Regions from separate parts of the Homo sapiens genome. Here region 1 is linked to region 2. The links are contacts of gene promoters, found by promoter capture Hi-C in human tissues and cell types (Jung and others, 2019). All regions are on one chromosome and are shown on one strand. Each heading gives the region's core, a stretch centred on a gene start or on the middle of the fragment in contact. The rest is flanking DNA. Distances are from core to core; before and after follow the strand shown. Region 1 overlaps DOK5 (docking protein 5). Region 2 holds the start of DOK5 (docking protein 5).

The links. Contacts are between HindIII fragments. The study calls those that stand out against the background at their distance.
Region 1: a contact is called between a fragment that was not itself captured here and the fragment with the promoter of DOK5 in region 2, in 1 of the 25 tissues and cell types used here (H1 embryonic stem cells).

What each region holds. Positions count from the first base shown.
Region 1 is chr20:54,514,106-54,520,728 of GRCh38, forward strand. All of the region lies in intron 1 of DOK5 (docking protein 5), which reads left to right. Among named protein-coding and RNA genes, the nearest start is that of DOK5, 42 kb to the left of the region's middle. The HindIII fragment of the contact is 4,039 bases long and covers 2,940-6,623 here.
Region 2 is chr20:54,473,229-54,480,346 of GRCh38, forward strand. DOK5 (docking protein 5) reads left to right here and starts at 2,365. Exons shown (of 8, transcript NM_018431.5): 1 at 2,365-2,784. The coding sequence starts at 2,719. The HindIII fragment of the contact is 11,986 bases long and covers 1-7,118 here.

The sequences.
Region 1 (6,623 bases), core at 3,709-6,208, 43 kb after region 2:
ACAAAGTCGTTGGTACCTCCTAAGCCATCACTGCTCCAGTTAAGGGACATGTGGCTCTGAATACAGGGCTCCTTTTGGAGTCTCCCCTGGGATGTCACATCTTCTGGTTTGACAGATGCCAACTTGACATTTTTCTCCTCTTTCATTATTCTGAATAATTCTGCAAAGCCCTCATCCTCCCAGCACTATATGTACTAAGCGTGAGAATTTGCCTTTTCCACTTGTCAAAATATGTTAAGAGTTTGTAGGAGTCCAAGGTCATGCTTCAGTTTTCAGACAGAAGAGGAATTCCAAGAATTCCAGAAATGGCAGGAGATCTCTTTTCTTGCTAACTTTGGTTCAGGTGTGCTTTAAAAATTCAACATTTAATGGGCTGTTAAATATTCCTTCCTCTTGCTGAGGAACTTCAAGTTATTTTAATATATATTGAGGGTTGCCTAGTAACTACAGCTTTACTAGCTTACTGAGAGAAGTTTTACTCTTTTTTTTTTTTTTTTTTTTTGGCTACAGAAAGGCAATCAGGGGAGAGCAATTGGAGATGGCTTCATGGAGAAAAGGAGGAGGAATATGGTGTCTCTTTGGGACTTGAGGTCATGTAAAACTGATGTTAGAAGAAACATGTAGGTCCCTGTCTGAGGCAATTAGAAGCAAGTTCAAGGAAATCATCTTCCACTTAATCTTTGCTTATGCTGAATAGTTTGAGTGAATGATGTCACAGGGAGTTGAATTACCAAAATGCTCACCTGCCTTCCCCCATTTCTCCCTCCCTTCCTCCTTCCATCCTTCTTTCCGTCCCTCCCTTCTTCTCTTCTTCCTTCCTTCATTTCTTTCTTTTTCTTTTTTTAAAGAAAATAAATAATCTTACTGTTCTAAGGACCTAACTTCAGGCTCTGAGATATGTATTAGTTATAATTTTTTTTTTAAGGTGAAATTTCACTCTTGTTGCCCAGGCTGGAGTGCAATGGTGCGATCTTGACTCACTGTAATCTCCGCCTCCCAGGTTCAAGCAATTCTCCTGCCTTAGCCTCCCGAGTAGCTGGGATTACAGGCGCCCGCCACCACACCCAGCTAAATTTTCCTATTTTTAGTAGATACGGGGGTTTCACTATGTTGGCCAGGCTGGTCTTGAATTCCTGACCTCAGGCCATCCAACCCGCCTCGGCCTCCCAAAGTGCTGGATTACAGGCATGAGCCACCGTGCCCGGCCAGTTATGACTGATTTTATAACTGAATTATTTCTCTTCTTAATTCTGCTTCTTATAACCTAGTGGGAAACAACCAATGAACAAGATGAAAATCTAATTGAAACCACCATTTATTTTCCTGAGTCAGTCCAGGTTTGTAACTAATTTGTAGATTATCTCAATGTTGAACTTTGCTGAGTTTTGTGAGGACATGGAGATTTTATAAGCCAAGGACGTAGATATCTCTGGGAGGACATTTTCTTGTCTACCACAGTACATCTTGTTGCTATTCATTACTAAATCCTTACTTTGAGATCTTAAAACAGGGAACATCCTACCAATGTCAGTTCAGATGCAAATTTGTTTGAGCTTGTGTTCTCTCTTGATTAATACATTTCAGAGAGTTAATTTGTTTACCAAGAAGAAAATCATTTTTTTGTATTGGTTACCAATGAAAAGTGGCATAGTCCAACTAAAGAGAGTACGCAAAGATGGGTTTTGTACCTCCTGGGGAGATGCTAGCTACCCAGAAACGTAGACTAATAATAAATAAGATTACTGGCCATCAGCCGGTTTTGCCAGGTGATGGCATGAATGTTCAACGTATGCTTTTATGCAATTCTGTGATGCTGCAGTAATTGGGGAAGGCATTAGCTGACAGCAGTCCCTGATTCGATCCATCTCTTTCTGGCTCTGGTTACTTCTGACTCATAAAGTGGACAGGGAAAGCAAAAGGAGAAATGTGTATAATAGTAAAATGTTCACTTGCAGTGTGTCGTGTACCCTTAGGCTAAAGATAGACAAGCATCTCAGAATCTGGGTCCCATATTCTCATTTCCCCGTATATAATTCCTCAAGTGGGCAGAAGTGTATCTGGTTATATAATCCAGTTATAGTGGGAAGAGAAACTATGTTTAAATATGCATAGGGAGAAATCATTGTCAGCTACAGATACATATTTAATTACAGTAAGAAAAAAATATGAATTTGAAAATGATGTGGGGGTTGTTTTATTCAAATTGGGGTTCTAATTCAGTCTAAAAAAAACTGAGCAGTGTTGTTGAAATGATTGCCTCTTAGCAGATAGTATGTGTATATGTATTCTGTAGCTCTGCCTGACTTAAAGAGGCTTTTACAACAGATGGAAAGGCATAGTGAGAGAAGAAAATAATTTAAATTTAACCCTTTGTAAATACTCTAGCTTTAAGGGCATTTTGCCTTCCTTGGGTTGTGGGTAGAGTATGCTATCATATCTGAACTGTGTGTTCCCCTTATAACATCCTGTGCTAAGTGCTCATGCTCCCCAAAATTCAGGTCCCTCTAAATGATGGTGATGGGAATCCAACTCTGACAGTTTGACCCCAGATGTGTGCTTTACACTGACCCAAGATATAGCCTAGCAATATACGATGTAAAAATTAACATTAACTCATTGACTCAACTACTAAATAGGTACTAAAAGTCAAGCTTTTTGCTAGACCTGAGAATATAGAAGTTGAATTTAGCTCTTGCCCTCAAAGAATTTACAGTCTAGGGGGTAGACCTGCTCCTAAACTAGCAATTAAGTCTTTAATATCTATGCATTTATTCTGCAACACTGAATTTAAAACAGGTTTTTCTCAGAAGCAATTTTGTTTCTACAAACTGTCTCCTGGGCTCAGAGTCCCTCGTGTTACCGAGTTCCTTGAAAGCCATGCTTATTGCTTTTAAATGCAACATATCTCGGGTTGATGTTTTTGTTCTATAGTAATCCTTTCATTCCCTTTTTTATTTGAGAGTTTGAAAATAATGTTGTGTGCAAAATCCCTAAGGAATTAGCAGAGCTGATTTGATTCAAATATAACTTCCCACCCTGTGTGCAGTGTCATGCCCCTGAGTTTCATATACATGAGTTCTAACCCCTTCTTGTCTCTTGCCAAGATTTATCAGCAATTGGTTAACCTATTTGGGTTAGCTTAGCTTCATTTTCTTCATCTGAATAATCGGCATAGGTATGGATTCTCACAAGAATCAGATGCTATTTTACAGAAGTTTTATAACAAGCTTAAATTTTGAAATAAAACTAAAGCATCATGATGTAGGCAACATGGGATAAAATTGTAGCCTAACCACTGTGTATGCTGGAGTCACGCAATTTGAATTATACAGTCTTTGAGGTTTCATATGTTTTAGTTTAAAGGCTGACTTTGCCATTTGTAAGCTGGGTGGCTTTGGGTGATTTGTTTAATATTTCTCTGTTAGTTTCCTTATTAGTAAAATAAAATAATAATGTTTTCTTTTATAGGCTTTATAATAACGATGAAGGTGCTGGTGGAGATGATAAAGTGATGATGATAGTGTTGGTGGTGATGATAGTGTCTCTGCAGTGGCTGGAATATTTATGCACCCCCCGCTCCAAATTTAAATGTGGAAATCCTAACCCCCAAGGATTTGGTATTAGGAGATGGGGCCTTTGGGAGGTGATGAAGTCATGAATCACAAATAGGAGTAGTGCTTTTACAAAACAGACCCCCAGGTAGTCATTTATCTTTTCATCATGTGAGAACACAGCTAAAAGATTGCTGTCTATGGACCATGAAATGGGCCCTCACCAGATGCTGAACTTGCCAGTGCCTTGATCTTGGACTTCTCAGCCTCCAGAGATGAGCAATAAATTTCTGTTGTTTATAAGCCATCCAGTTTATGATGTTTTGTTATAGAGGCCCAAATGGACTCAGCCTTACAGTTATTAAGCCCTTCCTTCTTGCCAGTACTGTGCTGAGTACTCTACATGCATCACCTCATAGCATTCTCAGTTGCCCCCTCTGGTAGCTACTATCATAATCCCTATTTTCTTTTTTCTTTTTTATTATACTTTAAGTTTTAGGGTACATGTGCACAACATGCAAGTTTGTTACATATATATACATGTGCCATGTTGGTGTGCTGCACCCATTAACTCGTCATTTAACATTAGGTATATCTCCTAACGTTATCCCTCCCCCTTCCCCCCACCCCACAACAGGACCCAGTGTGTGATGTTCCCCTTCCTGTGTCCATGTGTTCTCATTGTTCAATTCCCACCTATGAGTGAGAACATGTGGTGTTTGGTTTTTTGTCCTTGTGATAGTTTGCTGAGAATGATGGTTTCCAGCTTCATCCATGTCCCTACAAGGGACATGAACTCATCCTTTTTTATGGCTGCATAGTATTCCATGGTGTATATGTGCCACATTTTCTTAATCCAGTCTATCATTGTTGGACATTTGGGTTGGTTCCAAGTCTTTGCTATTGTGAATAGTGCCGCAATAAACATACATGTGCATGTGTCTTTATAGCAGCATGCTTTATAATCCTTTGGGTATATACCCAATAATGGGATGGCTGAGTCAAATGGTATTTCTAGTTCTAGATCCCTGAGGAATCGCCACACTGACTTCCACAATGGTTGAACTAGTTTACAGAACCACCAACAAACTACCATCAGAGTGAAGAGGCAACCTACAAAATGGGAGAAAATTTTTGCAATCTACTCATGTAATGAAGGGCTAATATCCAGAATCTACAATGAACTCAAACAAATTTACAAGAAAAAACAAACAACTCCATCAACAAGTGGGCGAAGGTTATGAACAGACACTTCTGAAAGGAAGGCATTTATGCAGCCAAAAGACACATGAAAAAATGCTCATCATCACTGGCCGTCAGAGAGATGCAAATCAAAACCACAATGAGATACCATCTCACACCAGTTAGAATGGCGATCATTAAAAAGTCAGGAAACAACAGGTGCTGGAGAGGATGTGAAGAAATAGGAGCACTTTTACATAATCCCTATTTTCAATGAGAAGTTGAGGCTTGTGGAGTTGCTTAACATGTCCAGGATCACCTAATGCTCCAACATAAGTTTGATTAACTTTAATACTTTTAATATATATTGTGTCTCAGTTAATGTTTTATTGTGCTCTAGTAGTTTAAACTGCGTTATCTTGTATCAAGAATTCAGGTGTAATAAAGATTAAAAGGGACATGATGTATGTTTAATATTTAGCATCTGTTCCATAGTAAATGCTAAATAACTATTAGATATTTAATTGGTATTAGATCTATTTCTTTTTTAACTTATAAATTATAATAGTTATTGATTCTATTATTGCCTTTAAAATTTAAAACCATTCTGAAATGATGAAATGGTTTATTCTCCTCTATAAGGATGCAAAAGTTACTATTGCCCATATCACTGAAGATGAGGGAATGCCAAGATTTTTAAAATTTCTACAGAATAGCAAAAATAGTTTCATCATTTAGGTCAAAGTTTCAAGTTTGAGTAAGGCTTATATTCATTTTTTTCAAATAACTAGCTTGTATTTTTAAACAAATATCACTAAAGTCTATAATATCATTATCTTATGATTCAGTAAAGAAAGAGAAATAAGCTGTTTAAATATGATGCCATACAAATTCATTCAAAAGAGAATGATGCATTCAATAACTATGTTTGTGAATTTGGCTCTATGCTATGAGATACCCAATTTGTCTTATTTTATCCTTGAATTCATACTTCTTTAAGCTTCAAGGAGATGTGATGCATTAGAAATTGTAGATTATCTGTGGCAAATTTGACTCCAGGCTTTTAGTAACACCTCATTTCAAATTCTCAAAAGAGAATCCTGTTGTCTTAATGTTTTGGTCTTCGACATCCAAGTGTGTTTTAACCTCTATGGTGCACATACCTGCCCACCACTGCTCCTTGACCTGCAGCTTCACTGAACATTTGAACTCTTGTTGCAATGCTTATGTTATTGGGCCCCTCCACATCCTTGCCACAGTTGATTGAACCAAAGGCAACTCAGTAGAACACTCCTAATCCTGCCCCCTAAACCCTCCCCGTAAGTCCTTGTCATCTCAGTAAACGACATCTCCAATCTTCCACTTGCTTAGGTTATCAACCTTAAGTCACTCTTGAGTTCTCTCTTTTTCTCACATTTTATTAGCAAATTCTAAGCCCCTTATCAAATTCCATTAGCTCTGTGTTCAAAACACATCTGGATATAGTGATTGATACCCCTGTTGTTTCCACTCTAGGTCAAGATTTCATATATAATCACCTGGGCTATTGCAATCACCTTCTAACTTGTTTCCTTTTCTACCCCTGCCCATTTTTGATTGAGGTGATTTTTGAGACTGTAAGATCATACCACTCCTCTGCTCAAAATTCTGCAAGTCTTGGCCAGGTAAGGTGGCTCATACCCATAATCCCAGCACTTTGGGAGGTGAAGGCAGGAGGATTTTTTGAGCTCAGGAGTTTAAGACCACTCTGGGCAACACAGCAAGATCTCATCTCTACTAAAAATAATAATAAAAAATTATCTGGGTGTGGTGGTGTGTGCTTATAGTCCTAGCTACTTGGAAAGACTGAAGCAGGAGGACTTGCTTGAGCCCAGGAGGTTGAGTCAGCAG
Region 2 (7,118 bases), core at 1,115-3,614:
TTTTTTGAGACAGAGTTTCGATCTTGTTGCCCAGGCTGAAGTGCAATGGTGCAATCTTGGCTCACCTCCACCTCCCAGGTTCAAGTGATTCTCCTGCTTCAGCCTTCCAGGTAGCTGGGATTACAGGCACGCACCACCACACATAGCTAATTTTGTATTTTTGGTAGAAACGGGGTTTCTCCATGTTGGTCAGGCTGGTCTCGAACTCCCAACCTCAGGTGATCCACCCACCTCGGCCTCCCAAAAAATTACAGGGATTACAGGCGTAAGCCACTGTGCCCAGTCTCTTTGCTCTTGCTGCCAGGGCTTGTATTGCACAATTTGGACAAGTGTAAATGTCCTATGAATAGTATATCACAGTCTGTACGTTTTGCATGTATGTCAATTGGATTTCACCAAACAAAACCATATATTGGATTCAGTCTTGCAATTTAAAAAAGAAATCATTTGTTCCTTCACGTCTAGTTTGATATTTTCTGGTTTGATTCTAGTTTCCTCAGCTCCAGTTAAATTATCTATGGATGTTGATTATAGTCAGCATTAACTATCAAGGGATGGATTTCTCGCCTTCAGTTTTTGTCAGTAATTATTTCCGTTATTGTGGGCCCTTCATTTCAAGCTCCTTATGCCTTAATTTCTTCATTTTTTGTTTCTATAATACTGTGGACTTGGTCTATAAATGATGTGTTAGATAAATGCCTTCCATGAACACCTCTATTTTACAGCAACCATGGGCAGCATTTTTTTTTTTAAGTTCCAATCCTTCAAAAGGAGCTCTCCAAATGATTTTACCATTTCATCTCTTTTGGTGAGAGATTTAAAATTAAAACATCATTTTCCATAGAATGGCAACATGAAGACAGATGGTTTACTATGTAGCAAAAATAGTTCTCCCTGCCAGAATATCTCCTTTTTGATTGTCCCCATTTAGTCTCGGTTCTCCTATGACACATTCTTGGAGGTTTCTGTTCTTTAACTGAAACTCATCAAGCCAAGGTGACTAAAAGCTAATGTTCCCAGTGAGAATGGGAAGATTCATATCGTCTTAGAGTTGAAAGACCTGTGGATGTCATCAGGTCAAACAATCCACTACTAACTGAATCCTCTTCTCAATGGCTCTGAGCAGTGATCTCTAGCTTTAGCTTTGTCGCTTCCCAGTGAGTAAGAATTTTTGTCTAATTTCTGATGATTATCTTTGCCTTTGTGAATAGTGCAAATGATTAGAAAGATCTTCCTTGGAAATCAACTAGTAACCTCTCTTTCTGTGAGATCCTCTCTTCAGAAGAGGAATAGGAGAATGTTTAGGAGCAGAGCTGGGCACTACACACACCTCCCTTCAATCCTAGCTCTGATAGTGGCCAGCTGTGAGACCTTAGCAAGTCTGTAAAATGTGGATGCTGGTGCCTAATTCATTATTCCCTTAACAAGATTAGCACAATGCCCAGCACACTGGTGCTCAATGTGTGTTAGCAATTATCAATCAAGTATGCTTTAGGGAGGTAATGCAGTCAGGGGCAGGTGAGTGTGAAATTCAGTCCCCTTCTTCATCTTATTGTATAGGCAGTATCTCATAATGGCAATGAGAGCTCTATTGCCAGGCTAAGGAGGCTTAATTAAATATGGGCCTGGTGTATACATTAACAGGGCACCTACCTCAAAAAGTGCAGGGGAGTTTGAATGAGTCAATCCATGCAAAAGGCTTGGAGAGTGCCTGGCACCTAGGTGGCCATCTTGATAACCACAAGGATTTACTGAGCACTTGCTCTGGGGTCAGGCTTTGGGGACAGACAGTGATGAGGCCAAGTCTCAGCCCCCTGGGAAACACATTCCGGCGGGAAAGAGGCTGAAACAGGGAAACTGTGGCAAATGATACCAGCGAGGGCTAGGTCCCTGACACAAGGAAACCCAAGGAAGCATTTGGCTTAAGCGGTGACAATATCCCTCTCCTCAGATGCCAAGGTCAAGGCGAGCCGCGGCAACACCATCTCCCCAGACACACACGCAAAATCGGCCCTTCTCGGGGAAAGGGCAGGGGCTGAAGGGGGAGGCGGGGTGGGCGGCGGCTGGAAAAAAGTGAAATTTCCTCTCCTCCTAAAATAAGTCATTGGAGCGAGGAGAGCGAGCGCTATCTCAGTAGGCTGTGGGCGAGGTGCGGGGGTGGCGGGGGCACGCTCCGGGTCCGCCAGGAGGGGAGGGATCGGAAGGGGAAGCGGGGAGGGAAAGGTGGGTGGGAGGCGCGGGGAGCGTTCCAGGGCGGCTGCTCACGGGTGGCCGCAGCCCAGTGCTGGGACTCGCGCGGCTCCTCCTCTTAGCCCCCCACCCCTTCCTCCTCTTTCCTCCTCCTCCTTCCTCCTCCTCCTCCTCCTTCTTCTCCTCCTTCTCGGCCGGGAGGAGGCAGGGCTGGATCCCTCAGCCGCCGCCGCTCCTCCTCCTGGCAGGCCGGCCGCGGAGTCAGCTGACGCCGGCGCTCCAGCCTCGCCTCCCCGCGCCGCGCTCTGCGCTCCCCGAAAGTGGCTGCAAGCCGGCCGCCCACTGTCAGGGTTGGGGGGACAGAGAAAGTGATGTGCGCCTTCTAAAGCCTCGCCCAGCGCCGCCGAAGCAGCTTCACCTCTCCAACTTTCTCCCACCGACTGCTTGTCTTGACCCTGCCCTCCACCCTCCCCAGAGCCACTTCGGGTGCGCGCTCTTGGGTAAAGGGGGGGTCACCGGCTGTCTGGGATGGCTTCCAATTTTAATGACATAGTGAAGCAAGGGTACGTGAGGATCCGGAGCAGACGCCTCGGGGTGAGTATCGATCCTCTCCGTGTTGCTGTTCGCCGGTTCGATTGTCTCTCTCTTGAGCCAGCATCCCTGGAGGGTGGACGGAGAGTCCCCGGCCGCGCGCCGGAGAATTGCGCGGTGGCTTTCTCAGCCGAAACCCGCGTCTCCGGGGCTGTCACTGTAAGGCCAGCGTCTAGGTATGTAATGGATCTATCTTTATCTCTTGGATGACTTGGCTTTCTGATGGTGGCCGCGTGTTGGGCTTCAGTAGCCCCTGGAGCCCATCTACTCGAAATAAATATTTCTCGGTAGCCATGGAAGTTGGAGCTGAGAAGCCCGGGCGGGGGTGCCTGCCGGATGCCCCCGGTTCCCCTCTTTTCCCACTCGCCGCCAACTTAACTTTTCCGGGGGATGGATCGGCTGGTTGAGAAAGAGGACACGCATACTCGGTGTGAACGAGGTCACGAACCCTCTGACCCCAGGGAGAGATTTCTGCCAAGCGTAAGGTGTCTTTGGATCCCCCCACCTCTGTCCCAGGTGTCGTGTCAAAGGCGGTGCGGGCTGGCCTCTGGTCGGGGCCAACTTGGGTAGATACTTGAATCTGGATTTTCCGTGGTTCGAAGCCGGGGTGGTGGATTTCTGTTGCTGGAATACACCCTGGAGGTCCACGGAAGGGTTATTTACGTGGAACCTGATACCTGGCATAGCGCAAGTGCTCCCTACATATGTCCTGAAAGGAAGAATGAATGAATCTTAGGGCACTTGGGACAGATGTTGACACAGGCTAGCTCCTTCCTTAAAACTCCCTCTCTTTCGCCCCTTTCTCTCTTGGCTCTTCGCTGGAGGAGGCTTCAAAAGAGAACCTACCCTTCCTCTCCTTGGGACTGAATGATGGTGGAAGAATTCTTGAGGGAGAGGGAAGATACTGGAACGATTTTTTTATTTCCTAAAAATTTCAAACTAGGTCCCTCATTTCTCTTTGCCTCCTATCAAGTGTTGTCGCTGTTTTAGTTGATCCTGTGCGTTTGGACATAAGGGGTGAAAAGTGGGGGTGGAGAGGTGGCGGGGGCGGGGGGAGAAAATATCCTTTGGTGTAATGCCTGAAATAAGTATAATGTCAGTAATCGTGTGGAATGCCGCCATTGATAATGAGTGGTAAATTGAATAGCTTTCTTTAGAAATATGTGTCATTTGGCATCTTTCTCTTACTTGGTCTTTGGACTGTTTTAATGTGCCAGATACTTTTACTGAAAACTGAAAAGAAATTTCACAGTAGTAAACTCAGCTAGGGAGGGAAGCCCTGTGGGGAGGAACATCCGCAATTATTATAAAACTCTTGCCTAATTCGTTTTGGTCTTTTTCTTTTCTTTTTCTCCCCTGCTGGTGACCATGTTTTAGCGATTATGTCCTGTGTTATTGTGAATATATACATATGTAATTAGGGAGAAATGTAACAGAATTCACCATTTCCATCAGCTCTGCCAAAGTTTCCTTGGTTTTCTTTTCTGCTATGCAAATATTCTCATCTTCAAGAGCACCCATTGTTGGGGGTACTTTACTGAGTGACTCCCATGTAAGGGGCAAACAATAATGGGAACTTTCTATTTTTGGTATGCTTATAGGCTGGCCAAGTGTTACAATTTTAAGGGGAGTTAAGTTAAAAAAAAAAAAAACCCAGCATTCTAATTTAGCTTTACTCCATCATGTCAATGGAAGGAATTGGTATGAGACATCCATTCTGTGTTAGGGAGCATTCCAATGGGAAGAGGACATGCATTATTAATGCACAAAATATGAATTATTCATAAGGATCAGAGTTTATGCCAAATTGTGACACATGGTAATTTATTTGAAAAACTGGTTACCATCACTTTCTTGTTTGTGGTAACTGAGATTATTTTTTCTAGATTATTACAATTGACACAACATAGCCCTATGTGTGTGCCAACATTTATGGACAGATATTTGAAGCAGAAGGAACAGAAATATTTAGTTTGTATTTGTTTTATGTTTTACAGCATTTTGGATGCTAATGAGCAGTATACTTTCTCAAGATTTATTCTTTTTGTCTGTGTTCACGTTCAGACTTCAGAATATCTATTGAATTATGGTTATTGCTCATGGAGAGAAAAGGTCAAAAATATGATCAAGTAAATCTGGTCTTATTTGTTAGCATTGGTTTTCTCACCAGTTAATTTTTAAAATATTCTTATGGTATGATTTACAAAAGAGGCTGATTACATAGTTGCCAGAACACAGTGCAAACCAAAGTTTTAATGGAGGCTGCAAATATTGGTGAAGGATGCTGTACGGAATTGGCATGGGGACCCTATGTCCACAGTAAGGAATGTTAGCGGTATTAATCTAGGCTACATATAGTCTAGAACAGCATGCGACATGTATCTTCTAGGAATATGTGCCAGTCTCAAAGAGAGGTAGGGCATTTATTTTGTCTAGCACAGAGTAGACACTTGGTAAGTTCATGTTGAAATATGTGCTGAACTATATAGTGCATGGATGGTCTTGCCATTTATAACCTTTAGGAACTAATACAACAGCATTTATTAATGGAATCCAGACCATGTTTGGGACGGTTTATAATTAAATACAAAAACATTTCATGGTAAGCAGCTGTTCCTGGTGCCAAGGAATAAATGCTTCTTCAGATTTGGAGAAAGAGGAGAAGGGAACGCATTCTGCTTCTATTGCTTGTTGACCTTTGACCTTTCTTGGCCTCAGTTTCCTAGTCTGTACAATGAACACTATTTAATGTTCTTGGGAGCATTAAAGAAGATATTTGTGAAAATGCAATGAAAGTCTAGAACATTGATTCTGCTTGTATCATTTTCTTTAATCAAAGATGAGTTAGGATTGGTAGACGGATATAGGAATTATCTATTTCCTTCTCTTTCTATGTAGAAGTGTACAAAGGCATAAATGTTTATGCAGCTCCAGATTTTTTCAATGGATGAAACTTTTACAAATTATATACATATATGTGTATGTGTGTGTATTTTTATACATAGGAATAAATATATACATACAACCTATGTACATATTGTATAATATATAATATACGTATATTTATATATGTGATTTTTTAACAGGACAGGAAACATTCTAAAAACATTCCCATTCAAATGGGTCACAGATAAGTGGTCACCTTCATTTGAAATCCTAAAGAGTTTAAATGATTAAGCAATCAAATATGTATAGATTTATTCTCTTCTTTAGACATCAAAAAGCTTAATGAAATATAATTCATTTAACTCAAAAGTTTCAGTATCTTCACATCTGTATTCCCCAGCTTAATCCCCATTGTTTCCTGGAGGTCTCCAGCTGTGCCCTGGGTACTGAATTTGTTCAGGAATGTCGACGTTACTATTTGAGGGGCTGGGGGAAGGAGGGGAGCAGCTGTCCATAATTATTTGAGTAATCGATTAAATGCACTAAAAATTTCTTTTTAGGGGAGAGGCAAATCAGGCAATTTGTACAACATTAACCTGCTGAATGTGTGACTTAGATAGCATCATATAACAATTCTCACTTCGTTTCTTTCCTTGCAATGGAGATGATTTTCCAATCAATCATTGTCATGGCTTGCCCACAGTGCAAGTTTCAGAACGGAAACTCGGGTTTATTTATCTACGCACAATCCCTCAGTTACTTGCCTTTAAGTGACATTTCTGTGCTCTTGTCTACCAAGGACTTAGCAGCTTGGACCTCTTTTCTGACCTCCACTCATGTAAATTCTCCTGTCTATCCCACATCTCCACTTGGATGACTCACAGACCTGCTGCTCCTAGAGTCCTCTCCATCTTAGCCACTAGAGGTCCCAGCATTTTGGTTGCGAAGGTAAAAATCACAAGCGAACCTTGGTGTCATTTCACTCTTCTCCCCTCATCTCCCACCCCTACAGGCAATCCATCAGGAGATCTTGTGGGCTGTATCTTTGAAATATATCTAGAATCCGGCTGTCACCTCACGCTATCCACTGCTACGACCCTGGTCCGAACCCTCCTCATCTCCTCCCTGTAACATTGCAACAGTCTTCTCATTTGACTTCCTGCCTACACTCTTGCTCCCGCTAGTGCCTTCTCAATACAGTAAAGTGTTCCTTTGGAAATGTAAGAAAGGTCATGTCACCTGGCTGCTGAAGCTGTCAGAGGCGTGTGAACCAGAGCAACTCCATCTTGAATAGGAGCTGGGTAAAACAAGACTGAAACCTACTGGGCTACATTCCCAGACAGTTAAGGCATTCTAAGTCACAGGATGAGATAGGAGGTCGGCACAAGATACAGGTCATAAAGACCTTGCTGATAAAACAGTTTACAGTAAAGAAGCCAGCCAAAACCCAC